Linked DNA regions of Homo sapiens: region 2 is linked to region 1. The links are contacts of gene promoters, found by promoter capture Hi-C in human tissues and cell types (Jung and others, 2019). All regions are on one chromosome and are shown on one strand. The core of a region is centred on a gene start or on the middle of the fragment in contact, and the rest is flanking DNA. Distances in the headings are between cores, read along the strand shown.

What was found. Contacts are between HindIII fragments. The study calls those that stand out against the background at their distance.
Region 2: the fragment with the promoter of ZNF773 here is called in contact with the fragment with the promoter of ZNF256 in region 1 in 1 of the 25 tissues and cell types used here (dorsolateral prefrontal cortex).

What each region holds. Positions count from the first base shown.
Region 1 is chr19:57,946,071-57,949,308 of GRCh38, forward strand. It overlaps ZNF256 (zinc finger protein 256), which reads right to left and starts at 1,636. Exons shown (of 3, transcript NM_005773.3): 1 at 1,372-1,636. The coding sequence starts at 1,404. RefSeq lists enhancers at 1,045-1,124, 1,615-1,714, 1,785-1,874. The HindIII fragment of the contact is 18,689 bases long and covers 1-3,238 here.
Region 2 is chr19:57,498,162-57,501,399 of GRCh38, forward strand. ZNF773 (zinc finger protein 773) reads left to right here and starts at 1,777. Exons shown (of 4, transcript NM_198542.3): 1 at 1,777-1,952. The coding sequence starts at 1,920. The HindIII fragment of the contact is 9,164 bases long and covers 1-3,238 here.

The sequences.
Region 1 (3,238 bases), core at 386-2,885:
TGGCCACTGCCAAACTACACTGTCTTTTACATACCTTGCCTTCATGACCACTTACTCTATCATCATCCTCCCAGTCTTGGCCCACTAACAGCTTTACAACCAAAACCTGGAGCTTGCCCCGCCTAACTGTGACCCACAGCTCACTAACCTTGGTGCGCACAACAGCCACATCTTGAATATCTGCACCCTGAACCACTCCCTAGATTTCAAGACCGGCACGTTCATCTGCCCACTTAACGCCTCCATTTAGTAGGCTCTGAAAGATCTGACTCTTAGCATGGCATAAACAAACCTGATATCCCTAGTGAATATTACTCCTATTGCCAATTTGTTCATCTTAGTTGATGAAACTTCTTTCCCTACAGCTGCTAATACCAAAAACCCTGGAGTCTTCTCTGAACCCTCTGTTTCACTCCCTCACCACCTACATTATGTAATTTAGTTGTCCCTTTTGAAACCACACATCCGGAATCTAACCACATCTCCTAAATCACGATCCTGGGCCAGTAACCCTCACTTGGACTAGTCTACCCTGATTTTCCTTCCTCCTCCCTCAACCCCCCAGTTTGTGCCCCACTGTGCACACAGATGAAGCCTGTGAAGACCTTGGTAAATTACCTCTTTTTTCTGATTCAAACTTGCTATTACCTCCTGAAAACACACTCAACTTCTCAGGCAGCCACTGCAGTCCTGACGCCTATCCTCCTGTTCTTTGCTTCCCACCAGAAAGCAAGGAGACTTGTGGCTTCATAAATGCACCCAGCTCCGTACTGCACCTAAGCATTTGCACATCTTGTACCTTTCTGGAAAAACTTTCCACACCCGTTCACATGGCTGCCAGAAATTGGAACAACTCTATATACCGGCTAACATGGACATAGGACCCTGGGCTTGGGGTTCACCCAAGGTCTTCAGAACTAAGGGCTGGGGGAATGGCACTCCACAACCCAGAGAACCTGTGGGTGGGAGTTAGGGCTAGTGAGAGACTGGGAAACCCTCCCCTTCCTGGCGTAGATTTCATAACCCTTTACAGCCAAGGGAAACGTAGAAAGAGCCAGGCCTCAGAGAAGAGCATCTATGGCGGTATTAGATGGGCTCAAGCCACCCCGTAGCCCCATGCCTGGCCTTGGAGCCGGGTGCCCTCGCAATGGCTGTGTCACCTCTGTGCCCCAGGGCTCAGTGGCGCCTCTCATCAGGGGCTCCTTGCCAGTCGCGCCCTCCCTTCCCTAGCACACCAGGTGTTGGAAACGGGAGCCCCTCCGGCGAGCCCCCGTGTCCTGTCCTGGGCAGCAGGGCCGCGAGCAAGCGCCCTCGGGGGTGCTAGGACTAGCGTGGGGAGGGCGGGGAAGGCCCAGAGGACGCGGCACATACCTGGGCCGGGGCCGTCAGCTCGGCCGCCGCCATCTGACTCTGTGAGCGGAGCGGGGCCAGAGAGGATGTCCTTATTCCGGGCCGGGCCTGGGTACCCTGGGCGCCGCCGAGCCTCAGCCACGCCTCTGTGCAGCGGGGAAGACTCCTCTCGCGCCTTCTCAGTCAGTCACGGATGATGCTGACCCAGCGCTCCGGGGCTTTCTACCAAGTAATCAGTCCAGACAAATGCCAAAACGACCGCCACAAGGAGGACAACGGAAGTCCCGCCGCGACCGCGCGTGCGCTTACGGAAACACCACCTTTCGGAGGCCTCATTGGCTGAAGGTCGCCGTCGCCCAACGCAGGCCATTCTGGGTAATGTTCCCACAGGCGCACGGCGGGAGAGTGAGGGTCGCCTCCACCTCCTTCCGGAAGTAAAGGCCAAACCCCTGTAGGGGGCGCTGGGAAATGGACACTCCAGGTTGGGGCGGAGGCGAGGCTTCGTTCTTTCTTAAAGGAGACGTACCCAGGTTTCTACCGATTGCTGTCTGCCAGTGTTTGTTTGGAGACGTGTCATTTCATGTGTTCCCAGAGGCACATATCCAGATGCACATATTATTACATACAGTCAGTCAGTCACAAAATATATCCACTGGTTGAGAAAGCAAATAAATATGACTATGTTGCGGCCGGGCGCGGTGGCTCACGCCTGTAATTCCAGCACTTTGGGAGGTCGAGGCGGGCGGATCACGAGGTCAGGAGATCGAGACCATCCTGGCTAACTCAGCGAAACCCCGTCTCTAAAATACAAAAAATACCACAAAAAAAAAAAAAAAAAGAAAAATTAGCTGGGTGTGGTGGCGGGCGCCTGTAGTCCCCAGCTACTCCGGAGGCTGAGGCAGGAAAATAGCTTGAACCCGGGAGGCAGAGCTTGCAGTGAGCCGAGATCGCGCCACTGCACTCCAGCCTGGGGGAAAGAGCGAGCCACTGTCTCAAAAAAAAAAAAAAAAAAAAAAAAAAAAAAAGACTATGTTGCAATTCAAACGCATGCACTCAAGCACTGGAGTCAGTTTTCTCAGTCTCTGTATGTTTGATTAGGGACAAGAAAAAAAACACTCCACACAGGTTCATGACAAAGAGGATGAAGGTGGGATGCGGAGGCACCCTGCAGCAGCAGGACATAAGTAGATCCCTGTCTCTGGGTCCCTCTCGTGCCTGTGTAGTCAAACATTGTGTCCAATTCACTAAGCAACACTTGCATGAATCTAATCTCACTTTCTCCATGCCTTTATATTCACTTCTTTTTAATAATTTGACATCAAGCTCAGAAAGAGAACAACAAAAGGAATGGTATTTTGAAAAGGCATGATGGCTAGCTAGAGCATTAACAGGTGGAACAAAGGGTGCTCTGAATCCCAAATGTAGGGTGTATCTTAAATTCAAGATCTCTTCTCAACGCTGAAATGATTATCTTTGCCCCCATTAGTTACGCTCTTGTTGCCCAGGCTGGAGTGCAATGGTGCGATCTCGGCTCACCACAACCTCTGTCTCCCGGGTTCAAGCGATTCTCCTGCCTCAGCTTCCCAAGTAGCTGGAATTACAGGCGCCCGCCACCGTACCCGGCTAATCTTTTTTTTTTTTTTTTTTTTTTGTATTTGTATTTTTAGTAGAGACGGAGTTTCGCCATATTGGCCAGGCTGGTCTCGAACTCCTGACCTCAGGTGATCCACCCACCTCGGCCTCCCAAAGTGCTGGGATTACAGGCGTGAGCCACTGTGCCCGGCCCTTTGCCCCCATTATTATAGGGCTGTTCTGCATAAAAAATTGATACGATATCAGAAAAAGAATTGTAAAATACAAATTACAGAAAGCTACTAATAATGGGTGT
Region 2 (3,238 bases), core at 527-3,026, 450 kb before region 1:
GCAATGGTAATTTTCTCTATCATGACTGTGTTGGTGGTTTCATGACAGTACAGCTGACCCTTAAATAACACAGGTTTGAAATGCACAGGTCCAATTATATGTGAATGTTTTTCAATAAATATACTGGAAAAAATTTTTGAATATTTGAGACAATTTCAAAAAACCAGAATTCATTGAAATAGGTATGCCAAGAATGCATAACACAAAATATATGTAGGTTCTATTTTATCATTACAAAACCAGAGCGATATTTTCTTTTCTTTTTTTTTGTTTTTGAGACGGATTCTCTCCCTGTCGCCCAGGCTGGAGTGCAGTGGCATGAACTCCACTCACTGCAAGCTCCACCTCCCGGGTTCATGCCATTCTCCCGTCTCAGCCTCCCGAGTAGCTGGGACTACAGGCACCTGCTACCACACCCGGCTAATTTTTTGTATTTTTTAGTACAGACGGGGTTTCACCGTGTTAGCCAGGATAGTCTCGATCTCCTGACCTTGTGATCCACCCGCCTTGGCCTCCCAAAGTGCTGGGATTACAGGCGTAAGCCACCACCTCCCTACTCTTTCTACCCAATAAATATGAAGGTCTGTGGAAGCTCAGGGCCCTTCCTCACTAGAAGCAAGAAGCCCCCTGACCCCTTCTTTAAAACAGATTTATTTTGCCTTTGTTTTCATTTCTGCATTCGTTCCCCTTCGTTCAGTCCCATAGTAACTGTGACAGGAATATGGAGCAGAAATGGATGAAGGGGAGAAATTGAGGGGGAGTTGGCTTATGGGTTTGCTGCCTGTTGTTGTGCCTTTACACCAATGTTGGGTCCTTGAGGAAGGAAAGAACACAAATGAGAATGGGGTGAAAGAGGAACGTAAATCCTTGGGCTCCCCTACTCTCTCATCACCTACATCCAGAATTCAGAGCCTTTTCTTATTATCATACATCAGGCATTAATATTGGGTGTCCCCTTGCCAAAGGAAATTTAGGAAGGTATACGTGGCTTTGCCCAGTGAAACCTCTTTATGGTGGCCCTGAAGATCCTCTTCAAGTCCTTCAAAAGAAGGAAAGATTGGAGTATCAGCTGCAGGAAACTGAAATCCAGGCCCATCTCCAATTACAACAGGTTCCAGATGAGTCCGAGAGTTCTCGACACTCATTTCTCCTCCATCTCCTACTCCATCATCTCCATCTCCATCTTCTCCATCATCTCCATCTTCATCATCATCTCCATCTCCATCATCTCCATGTCCATCATCATCTCTATCTCCATCATCTCCATCTCCATCATCTCCATCTCCATCATCATCTCTATCTCCATCATCATCTCTATCTCCATCATCTCCATCTCCATCATCTCCATCATCTCCATCTCCATCTCCTACTCCATCATCTCCATCTCCATCTTCTCCATCATCTCCATCTTCTCCATCATCTCCATCTTCTCCATCATCTCCATCTTCATCATCTCCATTTCCATCATCTCCATCTCCATCATCATCTCTATCTCCATCATCTCCATCTCCATCATCTCCATCATCTCCATCTCCATCTCCATCTCCATCATCTACCGTCTCCAATCTCCATCTCCGAAGTTATGCCCACTTCCTCGAAGTTTGGAGCCACGCGAACTACACTGCCCAGAAGGCGCCGCGCCGTGAGCCGCGATGCTTGGCCAATGAAAAGAGGTCTACCCGAGAGTGCGACGCGCAATGGGCGGGACTTCCGGCGTCTCCCCTCGGCGGTTGCTTTCGCTGCCCTCAAGAGAACTCAGCTTGCCGGAAGCTGGTTGTTCGCTGCGGCGACCAGCTCCGGAAAGCGCGGTGGGGACGCGCTGTGTTCTCGCAGCTCAGAGGCGGGTCTGAGGCTCGGTGGCGGCGCCCAGGGTGGCCCGGGCCCTTTCCTCGGTCGTTGTCTCACCGCCACAGGCTCCGATGGCGGCGGCCACGCTGAGGGACCCCGCTCAGGTGAGCGCCGCGTCCTCCCGGCCTCCCCCGAATCCTAAAGCCCTGTGAGGGCCGCCTGCTCAGGTCCCCGGGTGCAGAACTGTGGGGCGTTCGTGGGCGGCGTCCCGTTTCTGACACGCAGTGTGATGGGGTGGCAATGGAGGGCAAGGGGCCCGGCTCGCAAAGATGTGAGGCGCATTCAGCGAGTCCCGAACCTGAGGCCTCCTGGTGTCTGTAGTGGGCAGCTTGGGAAGGGACGAGGCGCGTGTCGAGCGACAGCCCGAGCAGCTGCGCTTTCATCCTGAGGGGGCCACAGTGGCCGCGGAGGGCTGGAGACAGAAGAGTGACAAGATCTGTTTCTCAAAGTTTGCCAAAGGCCCTTCAAGTCAAAACAGACTGGGGTGGGGGTGAGGCGGGTGAAGACAGACCTGTGAGTAGGTAAATTCAGTAGACTAGTGGAGAGTCTACTGGGACTGGGCCACAGAGGAGGGGAAGTGATCAGATCTTGGATGGATTTCAAAAACTGAACAGACGGGAATTCCTGTTGCATCAGATGTGACTGTGAAAGAAAGTAGGGAATGAAGAGCCATTCTGGATTTTTATTTGTATTTTTGTTTGTTCCTGAATATCAGGAAGGATGGAGATGGGTAAGGCTGTGCAGGGAATAGGTTTTGGGCATGGTGATCCTGAGATGTCCCAGAGTGGAGGTGTCATGTCCACATGAGCAGCTGGAAGGCCTGGGGCTCGTATTTAGGAGGGAGAATCTTAAAGTTTTCTTTCAGATGGTCCCTGAGGTGAGGGAAGGGAGAGATGGGCCTGTAGGATGGGGCAGCCTCTACAGCCTGGAGTTTCGTGGTCCGAAGTGATTTTGTCTGGTGCCTGCAGGAATGGAGGGTTATAGAGTATGAACACCCAGGACTGGATGGAGACCGCAGTGTTGGGTAGTATATAGGTTTGCCACTCCAGGCTTAGTAGTTCCTCATGTCCAGTCCATATGGAGAAAAGGAAAGGTCAGCCAGGCTGGTGGAGCAGCACCTTTGGTGCCTAAGTTTCCCTAGCTATCAGCACAGGTGGGATGATCAACTGCTCCAGTAGAAGGGAGGGCTCTCAGCAGGATGGTCTTCAGGGGAGTATATAGCAGGCAGCCAGATTGCCAAAAGGAAACCCACATTGTCTTTCTTTTTCTTTCTTTTTTTTTTTTTTTTGAGACAGAATTCTGCTCTTGTGATCTGCCCACCTCGGCCTCCCAAAGTGTTGGGATTACAGGCTTGAGCCACTGCACCCAGGCAGAAACCCACATTTTGAAA